Regions from separate parts of the Homo sapiens genome. Here regions 2 and 3 are each linked to region 1. The links are contacts of gene promoters, found by promoter capture Hi-C in human tissues and cell types (Jung and others, 2019). All regions are on one chromosome and are shown on one strand. The core of a region is centred on a gene start or on the middle of the fragment in contact, and the rest is flanking DNA. Distances in the headings are between cores, read along the strand shown.

The links. The method cuts DNA at HindIII sites, captures the fragments that hold promoters and counts their contacts. A contact is called where the count stands out against the background at its distance.
Region 2: a contact is called between a fragment that was not itself captured here and the fragment with the promoter of SGCZ in region 1, in 3 of the 25 tissues and cell types used here (IMR-90 fibroblasts, bladder and small bowel).
Region 3: a fragment that was not itself captured here is called in contact with the fragment with the promoter of SGCZ in region 1 in 3 of the 25 tissues and cell types used here (adrenal gland, hippocampus and spleen).

What each region holds. Positions count from the first base shown.
Region 1 is chr8:15,236,498-15,241,147 of GRCh38, reverse strand. SGCZ (sarcoglycan zeta) reads left to right here and starts at 2,717. Exons shown (of 8, transcript NM_139167.4): 1 at 2,717-3,563. The coding sequence starts at 3,525. The HindIII fragment of the contact is 17,338 bases long and covers 1-4,650 here.
Region 2 is chr8:15,294,790-15,299,439 of GRCh38, reverse strand. No RefSeq gene overlaps it. Among named protein-coding and RNA genes, the nearest start is that of SGCZ, 59 kb to the right of the region's middle. The HindIII fragment of the contact is 5,853 bases long and covers 1-4,650 here.
Region 3 is chr8:15,188,745-15,193,394 of GRCh38, reverse strand. All of the region lies in intron 1 of SGCZ (sarcoglycan zeta), which reads left to right. Among named protein-coding and RNA genes, the nearest start is that of SGCZ, 47 kb to the left of the region's middle. The HindIII fragment of the contact is 4,527 bases long and covers 1-4,157 here.

The DNA.
Region 1 (4,650 bases), core at 1,468-3,967:
TGCACCCAAATATGGAATTGATTTGGAAATCACTAATTGTTTCTATCGCTTATGTCAGAGGTCTCCTAAGCCCCTGACCATCTGTGACCTGTTACGAACTAGGCCACACAGCAGGAGGGGAGTGGTGGGTGGGTTAGCACTCAGTACCACCTGAGCTCTGCCTGCTGTCAGATTAGTGGGGGCATTAGATTCTCATGGGAGCACCCCCCTATTATGAACTGTGCACGCCAGAGATCTAGGCTGTGCACTCCTTATGACAATTTAACTAATGCCTGATGATCAGAGGTGGAACAGTCTCATTCCAAAACCTTCCCCTGTATCCTGTGCCATGCATCTGTGGAAAAACTGTCTTCCATGAAACTGGTCCCTGATGCCAAAAATGTTGGTGTATTAGTTCGTTTTTACACTGATGATAAAGACATAACCGATAATGGGTAATTTATAAAGAAAAAGAGGTTTAATGGACTCACGGTTCTGCGTGGCTGGGGAGACCTCACAATCATGGCGGGAGGCGAAACGCACTTCTCACCTGGAGGCGGTGAGAGAGAGTGGGAACCAAGCAAAAGGGGTTTCCCCTTATAAAACCGCCAGATCTCGCGAGACTGATTCACTACCATGAGAAGGGCATGGGGGAAACCACCCCCACGATTCAGTTATCTCCCACTAGTTCCCTCCCACAACATGTGGGAATTATGGGAGGGAAAATTCAAGATGAGATTTCTATGGGGACCCAGAAGCCATATCATTTGGGGACCACTGGCTTATAATGCCAGTCTGGTCAACATCAAATGTTGGATATAATTTCATATTTTAAAATTCACTACAGATAAATTAGAGTCTATATATATATATATATATACACACACATAAAATTAAGAACAATATCATTTTTTCTTTCAACTATAATATGTCATATTAAGAAACTGCAGTTTTCCCTTTGTGAATAATATTTAAACATCAACATTTTTCTATGGATACCTTCCTTGAACTACATTTTCACAACTGCAAATTGAAAACTTACCTTAAATAATATCAGTTTGCTAATATGTTCAAAATAAATTTGCTTGTTTTATTCAATTTTCTAAAGTTAGGCAATGACTAGTTGACAGGGAATTTCAAATTCTTTCATATGGAAAGACTTGACTTTCAAAAGCCTATGTATTAGGTTGGTGCAAAAGTTATTGTGTTTTCTGCCATTACTTTCAGTGGCAAAAACTGCCATTACTTTTGCATCATCCTAGTAGTTATCTTTGTTCATGTTGAATTGTTGATACTTTCTAGAAGAGAAGCTCTTTTTTAGAGTTAAAAGTCTTATATAAGTTCATCTACTCTCAGCCTGAACCTTTATTATTTTTCATCATATATTATGCAAAATAATTATGTCTTATAAGCACATGAAGTTTATTTTGAGAATCTGATGTTTGGCCCTACTCATTATGGACTTTTGGCTACTTGATGTTAATCTTAAAAGCTGTAGTCAGAAGTCAAAGTTTGAAAGAAAGATAGCTTAGGCAAGTGCATGGAATAGACTAGGCTTAAACTAATGAAATGGACATCCTCCATGAGAAAGCTGAGCCCTCCAGGCTTAGCTGCAAAGTAGAAGGAGAAAAACTGGGATGTGCTCCATTGGTGCCGGTGAGGGGAGGAGGGGAGTCATCAGGGTTTCAGACATTAGAATATTAACTGTAAAGGTTTCTTTCCACACATTTATCTGTTCCATGCACATTTGTGTGCTTATTAGCTGCTTGGCTCTTGGGACATTTGGTGAATAAGAACCGTCCAGAACATGCCTTCAAGAGTTTATAGTCTATTGGAGGAGTCAAACAAACAAACGGATAATAACAGCATACATTAAATAATGGTAAATTAAGAATGCTGCTACGACAAGAGGATAAAGGAGAATATCTGACAGACTCACCTGAGAAAAATTTTTCTCTGCTCAGGTGACTTTAGTCAGAAGCAGAAGTGTTAAAACTATAAAGAACTAGGGGGAGAGACAGCTGTCCTTAACGAGGGGGCAAGAATGGGAATTAAAGAGCCAGTACTGGCAGGTGGACCAATAGACTAGGTGGCTGGAATTCAGGGAGGCAGAGGACGGAGATGATGTTAGAGAGAGACCATGAGACTGGAATGTGCATATTAAATCCTAAAAAAAGAAACACTTTTTTTTTGAAACAAAAGTATTTATACAGCTCTGTTTCCAAATCTGTAAACATCTTTAAGTCTCAATAGTTTATGTGTCATAATAAAACAAGAGTCTTTAAAACGCTTCAAAAGTCAAGTTTTACACTGAGACATTTAAATGAAGAAAACGAGCCCTTTCCCCAAATCTACAACCTACAAGTTAAATGCACTGACCTGTCAGAATCTATGTAAAGAACAATTTTCTAATAAAAGACTGCTTTATCATAAGAAGCATCGTTCCAGGAAATTTCCTTTAATATTCTTATCTGTCACTTTCTATAAAAGTCTTTTTTAAATTAAAAAATCTGATGCTGAAAGCAGCAGAGATCTGAAGTGAGTATATTTAAATACATGTGGGTGATACACACAAGCATGTTCCTCCCAGATCTGCAGGAAGATGAAGCAATGTACGCAATGAATTAAAATGATTGTCACCTAGTGGATTCCGGACACAGGGCAGGCTTTAAGACCCAGCGATAGTATTTGTCTGGAGAGGAAATGTTGCTTTTTGACAGATGAGAGAAATCCCCTTAGTGTTGGCTGTGGGAAGAGAGAAGCGAAGTCAGTCACCTGGTGGTGAAGGCCAGTAAAACAGCGAAGCAGGAGGAAAATTTTTCTCTCCCTCTCTCTTTCTCTCCCTCTTTTTCTCTCCGTTGGATCCACCTCCTATTCCCTCAACTCTTTTAGCATAACCTTCAAAGGAGAACGTTCCCTTCTGACTTGATTATCTTCTTTTCCCCACTGAGAAAATACCTCTCAGCTACAAGACATTTTTTAAGTCTATGCAGGACTTCGGGGATTCTGTTATCTTGCCGGGGAAACTGATCATTGCTAATGCCTGGGACTGGAGCTAAATTACCTACCAGAGTAAGCCTGACGGAGGAAGCCTTTTATCATACACTCTTCTCTTCAGTTTGAACACATTTGCTTGAAATTTGCCGCATGATGCTGACCAGGGAAGCAGCTTTTTTTCTCGGGATGCAGCAATTCGCTGGGTTCTAAGCTTATTGCAGAAGAAGAAATAATCTTAAATAGAGTGGATTTTTTTTTCCTTTTTTCTTTTGGCCCCTGTTTCAATCGACTCAGCTGTGTTGCACCGCGGTAGAGATCACCTGTCACTAAATCTTTGAGGAAGTAAAATAAAGTGAATTATCATTATTATTTATTTATTTTCCTTATTTTTAACCCGGTGGAGGCGGCGTGACCACGGAGAATGAGACTGAGAGGAGCTGCCGGGGCTTGGAGGAGGATAAAGCTGAGTTTAAGCTGGAAACTAAAAGACTAGATTGTTTTTGGGTGCCACTCGCCCGGTTCCTCTCCACTTCGTTTAGTTGCGCTCCATGGACAGATCAACGAACCTGGACATTGAGGAGCTCAAGGTACGTGCGGGTCCGGGCGGGCTTCGCGGCCGCTTCTCGGCGCTCCCTGCTCTCCCCTCTCCTTCCCGCGGCTCCTCCAGCGGCGCGGAGTAGTTGGTGGTCCCGCGGGACGACGAGGGGGCGTTGGGGGGACGCGCACCCGGGCGCAGGCGCCCCTGCTGGGGCCGAGGACACGGAGGGTGGTTCTCCCGAGCCAGGCTGCACTCCCGGGCTGGGCGCCCTCCCCGCCTGCTCCTCCCGCCAGCGGCCACCCCGTCCTCCTCCTGGTCCGTGACGGCAGCATTTGGGGTGCAGACCCTGCGCCTCTTGCCGGCTCGTCTCCCCGGGGGGGGCAGCGGCACCAGCTCTGCCCGCTGTCGCCTGCTTTCCCAGCAAAGTTGTCCGAGCTGCGCCGCCACTTTGCCTCCTCTTCCCGGCTCCGATCCCGCCTGTGCCCCAGCCCGGCACGGGGACAGTGCATTTCCGCTCGGAGATTCGCGTGACAGAGGCATCTGCAACGACAGCCCGTTTTTATCCCAGAACTTCGTGAGACCCCTTTTCCCTCCCACCGCCCGCGGGCAGTGTTTCCTCCCGCAGTTGCAGTGCAGGGGCTGGAGAGGTACCCCCGCTGCCGGGGACGGCTAGCCTGCCCTAGCCCCAGGCGCGGGAGCAGGTCCGGGGACTCGGGCAGGGGGCGGGGAGGCGGGAGCCGGGCTGGTAGGGGCGGCATCTGCGGAGGCTCCGGCCGCACACGGTCTCCCACCAGCCTGGAGCCCCCCGCCGCTCCGCGGGTTCCCCGCGCCGCGCCCTCTCCCTCTGGGGTCCCCTGCTTGGCCGTGAGGGCCTGCCCGGAGGGAGCATCCGGGGTGACAACGCGCCCCTCTGCCTATGGGCACCTCTGCCTGCTTCCCTTCAAGAAAAAAAAATATATATATTTATATACACACAATAAATAAAAACTTTAAAAAACCAACAAACCACAAAATACTTTAAATGTCCCGCTCACCGTAAACGAAAAAGCGGGAAAGGGGGCGACACTGGAAGCACCTCTTTTATTGAAATCCTCCACCCTTCTTTACCCCTAGGCATTTGGTACGTTCTACTATTT
Region 2 (4,650 bases), core at 1,467-3,966, 58 kb before region 1:
ATAAAGTCGTTCTTTCCTGGCCGGGTTAGGTGGCTCACACCTGTAATCCCAGCACTTTGGGAGGCCAAGGCATACAGATCACCGGAGGTCAGGAGTTCGAGACCAGCATGGCTAACATGGCGAAACCCTGTCTCCACTAAAACTACAAAAATTCGCTAGGCATGGTGGCGGGCACCTGTAATCCCAGCTACTTGGGAGGCTGAGGCAGGAGAATCACTTAAACCCAGGAGGCAAAGGTTGCAGTAAGCCAGGATCGCATCACTGCACTCCAGACTGGGCGATAAAGTGAGACTCCATCTCAAAAACAAACAAACAATAACAACAACAACAAAAACAACCAAAAACCAAAACAAAAAAAAGTCATTATTTTCTTAAACACAGACCTAGCCAAATAAGTTGATAATGTCACATAATTTCCATGTATTTATTTTTCTGGCACTTACATAATAAGATCACCAATAGTTCAAAAATTTTATTAAATGTTAGTTTTATTTTAGAACAGTGCTTTTGAAAATGCATTTTCAAGGAATAATGGTTCCACAAGCTGTTAGTAAATATTAGGTAAAAATTGGGTTCTGAAAAACATAGAGGTTAACACAGTTAAAGAAGTCTTTTGCAGGACCTTGTAGAATTGAAAAATGCTAATGAGGGTAGTGCGATTCTCGGTAAGACAGAGTAAGCATACTCCTCCCACTCCCTGTTTCTCCTACTGAATGTAGTTACAGAACTAGGGCAGAATGCACAGAGCAGCTCTTAAAAAAAGTAGATAGTAGCAAATGAATTTTTAAAAAATCAGAATCAAAATACCACTAGAAAGGCTGTAGTGTACTGTGTTTCCCTCTATTATGTCTACTGGCCTGTACCCCACTCATCTGAAACCCACAAGTAGACTTCTGCATGGACAGAGAGTTCCAGGACAAGCTCTCTGGTTTACATTCAAGGAATGGGAAACGGGTCCCCACAACAGCGATGGCAGCAGAGACATGAAGACATCTAATATCCTTTCAGACGAGCTGTGGCTCTTTCTGGGGAGCTGCGGTATAAGTGATATAGTTTGTGTGTCGTCCCTGCCCAAATCTCATGTAGAAATATTATCCCCCATGTTGGAGGTGGAGCTGGCGGGGGATGACTGGAGCATGGGGGCAGATTTCTCCTTTGGTACTTTCCTCGGCATAGTGAGTGAGGTCTCGTGAGGTCTGGTTGTTTAAAAGTGTGTGGCACCCCACAATTCTTGCTCCTGCTCCCTCCATGTGAGATGCCTTCCTCCCTTTTTCCTATGATGGTAAGTTTTCCTGCAGCCTCCCCAAAAGCTGAGCAGATGCTGGCATCATGCTTCCTGTACAGCCTGCAGAACAGTGATCCAATTAAACTTCTTTAAATAAATTACCCAATCTCAGGTACTTCTTTATAGCAATGTGGGACCTGACTAATACAAGGACGTTGGGAATAAAACTCTACTTCTTTCTCTCCTTTTCTGTCCTCTGCCCCTTGGCTGCAGACATGAGTGCATTTCAGGAAAGTATACAGCAGAAGAAGAGAAATAAAGCTCCAGTTTTTGGCCCAAGGCTATAAAGGGGAACAAATGTACCAGGGACATTATGGAGCTCAAAAAAGTGACTCAGTAAAGTTGTTTATTGTGCTCACCCCGAGTTGCATACGCATAGCTCTAATTTCTCAGAAACTGTAAATTCTCAAAACTTACCTAAGACTAAATAGAAAACTTGTATAGTTCTATTACTATTAAATAAATTGAATTCATAGTTTGAAAACATCCTCAAAAGTAAAGCATCTGGCTAGATAGTTTCACTAGTGAAATCTACTGGATATTTAAATGAGAAATAGCATCAATTCCACTCAATTTCTTTCAGAACATAGAAGAGAAAAGAGCACATTCTAATTTATTTTATAAGGCTAGCAGTTCTCTGATAAAAGCATATAAAGACAATACAAGAAAACTTCAGGCCAATATATCTCATGAAAATAGATGTAAAAATACTCAACAAAATATTTTGAAATAAAATTCAGCAACATAAAAAGAAGGCTGTATCAGAAGTAAGTGCAGTTTGTTATGGATATGCAATACTGGTTCAACAACTGAAAATCAGTCAATGAACTCCATCACATTAACTGTCTAAAAAAAGATCAAATCAATTGATGTGGAAAAGGCATTTTAATAAAATGTGTAAAACTCTGAGCAAACTAGAACTAGAAGGAATTTTCTCAGCCTGATAAAAGTTATCTATAAGAATACCTATAGTTGGCACTATTCTTAATTATGAAACAATGAGTTCTTTCCTCCTAACATCAGGAATGAAACAATGATGTCCACCATTCTCACTACTCCATTTCACAATATTATTATAAACACTGGCGAGTTCAATAAGGCAAGAGAAATGAAAATTCTACAGACAGGAATGGAAGAAATAAAACTTTCTTTATGTACAAATTATATTATTGTCTGTAGAAAATCCCAAGGAATATACTAAAAAAGAAAAAAAACCCTCCTAGATATAATTGGACCAAGTAAGTAAGTTGTGAGTTTACCAAGGTCACAAGATACAAGATTATCACACGATAGAAATTTTACTTATATAGTATAACAAGAAACAACTGGAAACTGATATTTTAAAAAAGTGTCAGTTACAGGAACTCTTCCCAAGCAACATACTTAGGTATAAACATAATAAAACATGTACAGGATCCTTATATTAAGAACTATAATACACTGCTGAAAAATAGATCAATGAAAACTTCTAATAAGTAGAGAGAGAGACTGCTCAGGCATTCAAAGACTCAAATTAGAAAAAAATGTCAATTTTATTGAATTAGGTCTAGAGATTTATGGTAATTCCAATCAAAATTCCCACAATAATTTTTATAGATGTGGACAAGCTTGTTATAAACTTGATGTGGGAAAGGAAGCAGAATAGTCAGAAAAATTTTGAAAGCTCCAATAATTAAGAGTCTTGGGTATTGGTAAAGGGATTGACACTTAGATAAATTAATTACAATAGATATTTCAGGCATAGACTCATACAGACATGGTCAATTGATTTTTGACAACTGTGCAAAAGTAATTCAATGGAGAAAAGGTAATCTTTTCAACAAATGGTGCTCAAACAAATTGATGGCTTTGAGCAAAATAAATAAATAAATCTTGACATTCATCACATTTTATACAATAATTATTTCAGAAAAGATTATAGATTTAAATGTAAAAAAATATAAATATTCTAGTAGAATAGGAGAAAATTTTTATAACCTAAGAACAGGTCTCAGAATACTTACATGTGACAACAAAATCAAAATCCATTACATAAAATCTTGATAAATTGGACTTCATGGAAACGAAAAACTTTGCTCCATAAAAGATAAAATAAGAGAAACTAGTCTGGCACAAAATATTTGCAGTTTATCTGACAAAGCATTTATGTTCAGATTATATAAAGAATACTTAAAGTTCACAAGAAAACAATGATTTTTAAAATGAACAAAGAGGATATACAGAAGGCAAATAAGCACACAGAAAGATGTTCAGCATCTCTAGACAATTGGGAAATGAAAATTAAAATCATCATGAAATTCCACTACTCACCTATCAGAATATTCCAAAAAAGCAAAAAGAATCTTCTAGATATAATCAGGTCTGGTAAGTGATTTGTGAGTTTACCAAGCTACCAGCTCTTCATATTGCGAGTAGTTTATATTTTAGCCATTTTAAATTTAAAATAAAAAATAAACTTTGAAATAAAAATGCAACTCGCAATATGAAGAGCTAGCAAAGAGGGGATGAAACTGGAATTATCGTATGTTGGTGGTGGGAATGAAATGTGACACAGCCACTCTAGAAAACAGTTTGCGGTTTACCTAACATTAAACCCACACTTACCCTATTACCTAGAAATCCAATTCCTACATATTTGTCCTAGAAAAATGAAAAGTTACATGCACACAAAATCTATCTGTTAATGTTTATACCAGTTTACTCTATGATCTTTGAACTGAAAATGATATAAATGTCCCCCAGTGGGTAAACAGAAAAACAAATTATGGTATGCCCATACCATGGAATCAGCAATAAAAATAATAAACTATTAAAGCACACAGCAGCATGGGTGAATCTCAAAGTCTTTATACTGAGTGAAAAAAAGCCAGTTTCTGAAGGTTACATACTATATGATTCTATACAACTTCATTTATATGGTGTTCTGGAAAATATGAAATTGTAGTAATAGAGAAGATACCAGGTTTCCAGGCTTTGGAGGTGTAGGGAGCATTTGTTTTTAAGCATAGGGGCTAGGAGAGAAGGCCCTGGAGCAAAACTTCTTGGGTCAAATCCCATCTTGTTCACTTCTGAGCTGTTTCGCCTCGGGACAGTGACCTAAACTTCTTGGTACCTCTGTTTTTCCAGTTGTAAAATGCGGGTGATACAGCATCTACTTTAGAAGATTGTTGTTGAAATGTAAATTGATTAAATCAACGTGGTTTTTAGAGTGTCAAGGAATTAATGTGTGTCTTGACTGGGATGGGATGGTGGTTATAAGACTCCATACGTTAGTTAAAATTCATAGACTTGTACCAAAAATGTGTTTTCTGTGTTAATTAAAAAATAAAATTAAAGTAAATGCTGATGTAGATTACAAACCTCTA
Region 3 (4,650 bases), core at 645-3,144, 47 kb after region 1:
AATAGTCCAAATTTGTCAATAATTCAACGTGTGACAGTTATAACGATGTCCTCATGAATGTTTTGTACCTAAATGCTTTAGAATTCTTGGCTAGCCTAAGATTATATTCAGTGATATATTCAAGCAACTTTCCATATTTTTGATAATTATAGTCTTCTACCAAATGTCTTTGGTGAATGCTATTATCATCGTCACATTGAAAAATTAAGAGAAATAATACATTAAACTATTAGAATCAGGAGACTTGCTCAAAGGATGTTAGCCTTTCCGGTCATGTGTTTCTATGGTGCTTACCTACGTGATTTAAATTCCAGACAACTATACCCTCATTTCCACCTCCACTACCAGTATTCACCAATTATAAGTGGTAAAACTTCAGTAGTGGTCATTAAATAATCTCCACTAAATGGGTAAAGTGTGTCATTTGTGATGTCACTTTAAAATGATATTTGGTATGAATCTCTGTCTTTGGGAATCCTTAGTCCAATATATTTTTTTAAATGTTCCTTTTTTCTCTGTATATCTAAAATAAAACAAAACTGGTTAGGCTGCTTTTGTTTTCTTGGAGTGAGAAACCACAAGAATGCACAACTCAACAGAATTTTCTCAAAGCAGCTCAAAATTCTCTCTCAGATTAATGGCAATGGGGCAGAAGACTTCAGTGGAAATGGTAATTTTAGGAGTTGTACAACTTATCATAGAACTTGATGGTTGTGAAGGTGGTTTGTTTTATGCATGGCATATGGGATCTGTTGATGAGTTTGGCATTGATGCCAGTAAACCAGAAAGAGACTTTGGATTAGTCGTTAGTGGCTGTCCCTCCAAATACCAAAGAATTGGAAATCCAAATTTCAAAGTTGTAGAAGAGCATAAAGAATGAGTATTTTCAACTGATGCTCAGTTACAATGACTAGAAAATATTTAAATGGATTGATGTGTTTCTTTTTTCAAAAATTTTTTGTAGCATCTTTGATGTACTAAAACGAAACAAACTGTTATATTTCAGCATTTTGGAAGCTGATTTTAAAATTCAGGTGTATTTTAAGAAAAATTTGTATGCGTACTTAAAATTTCTTCCCACATTACTCATCAAAACAATGTTCCGAAGTAGCTAAAGCTGTGTTTACATCATCTTCAGGGATTTGGGCTGTTGAAAGGAATAAAAGAATGTCACCAGGGCAACTATCTACACAGGGAGGGGGATTCAGGAACAAAATTTTACATGAATAAAGAAATAGCACAAAAGCCAATAGTATTTTGGTGTAAGAATATTCCCATTACTGGGGGAGGGGTTACCATAACAGAAGTAAAAACACTGGGAATATAATAGTAGCTCTAATTATGAAGTGCTAAATATTAACTCATTTAATCTTCACCACATTCCCTTGATGTAGGTACTACTTTTATGCAATTTTTACAGGTGAGAAAACTGAGATTTAGTTTGGCCCAGGGTTGTATAATGAGAGCTAAATCTCAAATCCAGCAATCTGAGCCCTTAAGCGTGGGTAGATAAAAGTTTAATATTTTTCTTCTGGGTTGTTTTACCTTTAATATTTTAGAGTCATTTTGTATAATTAAATAGGTAGGACTGAGTTGAAGTTTAAACAAAGACTTCACTCACTTTTCTGAAATATATCAGTATTTTTTCAACTGCTTCTATTCCTAGCATATTATTTGTACATGCTTTATCTCTACAGCTGAAGCTCGTATGAGGAATTTCCTAAATGTTAGTTATTTTTATATTCCTTATTGTCTGTTTTCTCTATGTATTTCTCATCACATACTTTCATATAATGATGACTGAAATATTTTCAAAAACAATGATGAATTAGTGGAGATATGTTATTTAAGGAGAATTTGAGATCTAACATGATGGGTTTAAAATAATAAGGTTTTCTTTAAAACCTTTAAAATCTTAAATTGTTTTCAGGGTTAAATACTATTTAACATTCCTAAGTTTATAGTTCAGTATAAATCCCTTAAGCGGTGACATTCAACTTGGTCAAATATATTTTCTACATCATTTGTTACAAGTTTACCTGCCTGGTCTAGGTATGCTTGTGAATACGAAATGAATAAAAAAATTTTCCTTTTGAGAATAAATACGTTGAATACAGACTAGATCATGCGAAAATTTAGAATTTTTCAGTCTTGAACAATATATGTAATTAAGTTTAGACCCTAGTGATTTATTAGTTGAAAATTATGGCAGTAATAATCTAGAACAAATAAACACAAAGCCTTTTAGATTTTTTTATATGCACTGCACAATTATTAAGCTTTTTAATTGATCTAAATTAGAGTTACTATTGTTGTATTAAAGTATATTGGGGAGTTTTTATTTTTTGACACTGTATTCTTGATTTTTATAATAGAAGATTTATAACAGTAAAATGATTGGAATCACATTAGGTCATTGGACACCTGAATCCATAGATAGTCCACTCTTGAGAAAAGAAATTAATTATTTCTAAGTCACTTAAAACTCAGAAGAACTAACTGTATACCTTTTCCAGTTGTGATTGAATTAGGGAAGGAGTAGTCATTTAGCTGCTACAAACCAGTTTTGGAAACACTATTTATCGTGTTATAGTTACTAAAGAAGACTTTTTACAAAATTGCAAATCTTTGTTGATAGTTTTTGGCTCCAAAACAAGTTTTTGATTGCTGACAAACCTAACCCCATCCCCCACGACACACGCACACCTCCCCCCACACAATTTTAAATAAGAATTTATGTAAAAACTTTGAAGGCTCTGAAACTATCTGAAAAACATCTGAATGATATCAACCTGTAGATTTGCACCATTCTTTCGTGCTGAAAGAACTCTGACTTGTGAAACAAGTCTCTGGGCCACTCTTTCAAGAAAGCTTTATTGTAAGTACACCACAGTGTCTGATTTCTAATCTTTGACTTGCCTATTTCTCTGACTAGACTGTCACTTGAGGGCTGAGAGTGAGTCTTAACCACTGTCTTTTCTGAGCCGTGTCAAGCCTATTGCATGGTAGGTGCAAAATACATAATAGATGAATGAATGAATGAATGAATGAATGAATGAAATGAATTATCCTTTCATTTCATCTTTCCTGATTTGTTTACAAATAATATACATAGGTTGTTCTACGCAGATGATGGCACTCTGATATCAGGGTTACTTAAAGGTATAACAAGCTTTACCATAAGGGATATAAAATTAAATGAGCCAAGGATTTTGCCGTTGGTGTTATGGTGGTGAGAGTAGGGTTTGAGTGTACAGAGGAGAATTTCAGGTAAAGCAGACATCAAACCATGGGTTTGTGAAGGTGCCTGGCATATGCAGAATTGGGTGAGAAAATCAGGTAGGCTATAACACAGGAGGTTTGGTGGAGAGTGACAAGAAAGAATGGTAGATAATGTGTTGAAGCTAGGTTATTATGGGTCTGAAATACCAAGGTGAGGCTTTTAGACTGTGGAACAAAGGAAATCAATGACAAGACAAGAAGAAATTGAAATAAACAAAATTCTGAATATGGCAGGAAGTCTTACTTGGAAAAATGCTTCAAGGGCTGGGCGTGGTGGCTCATGCCTGTAATCCCAGAACTTTGGGAAACGAAGGCAGTCAGATTGCCTGAGGTCAGGAGTTCAACACCAGCCTGGGCAACATGGTAAAACCCCTTCTCTACTAAAAATACAAAAAAATTAGCTGGGCATGCTAGCACGCACCTGTAATCCCAGCTACTTGGGAGGCTCAGGTAGGAGGCAGAGGTTCCAGTGAGCTGGGCTCTGAGATTGTGCCATTGCGCTCTAGCCTGGGCAATAGAGCAAGACTCTATCTCAAAAAAAAAAATGCTTCAAGGTCCTCATGAAGTATTTTGAAATGCTAACTGTACACAAAGAGTCCCTTGAGCGTGATGAGAAATGTATGTTAAGACTGTTGTTTGGCTCTCTTGATTTGGGTACCAGGCAAGCTTTTGGAGGGAAAGCTTTCTTTACAAAAAGTGAAAATGACCATTTGGAGGAGGTGTTTCAAAAAAATTCTTTCAGGAGGTCATGATTCCTCTAGAGAAAACGTATGTTTGCTTTTGTACAATAAACATATATTAACCTAATAAATAAATACAGGTCATTGTGTAGACCTTGGTCAAACTCTTTGCTCTTAGTTCTCTTTACTTTCTGACAAAATTGACCTTCCAAATTTGTTTACTCTTAAAATGTGACCTGGAACATCCATCATATAAAATTATTACTGCTAAACTGAAGGAAATGCAGATTGATCTATATCAAAGCAAAACCGTTATAGTGAAAGTATGGCCATCTTCCTGAATCTCTTAAAAAACACAAATATTTGTGGATTGCCTACTGTGTACCAAGCTTTTAATAGTTTTATGGTTTCTTCCATCTCTGTGAGCATATCTATTTTTTTTGATATTTAATGAATGAGTGAATGGAGGATGAATGTCAAAGTGGAGCTATTGCAAAAAAGGGGAGATTTTATCATATTATTTTGTAGCTTCTTTCTTCTTTTTTTCCTCCCACACTCTTTTCCAGATTCCCTTCCTCTCTGCCTTTCCTTCCTCTTCCCTTCCTTTCTTTCTTATTCTCAAATCAACATCTCCTGATACAATATGACAATGGATGTCTTAAAGGAAGCAAATAATAATGCAAATATA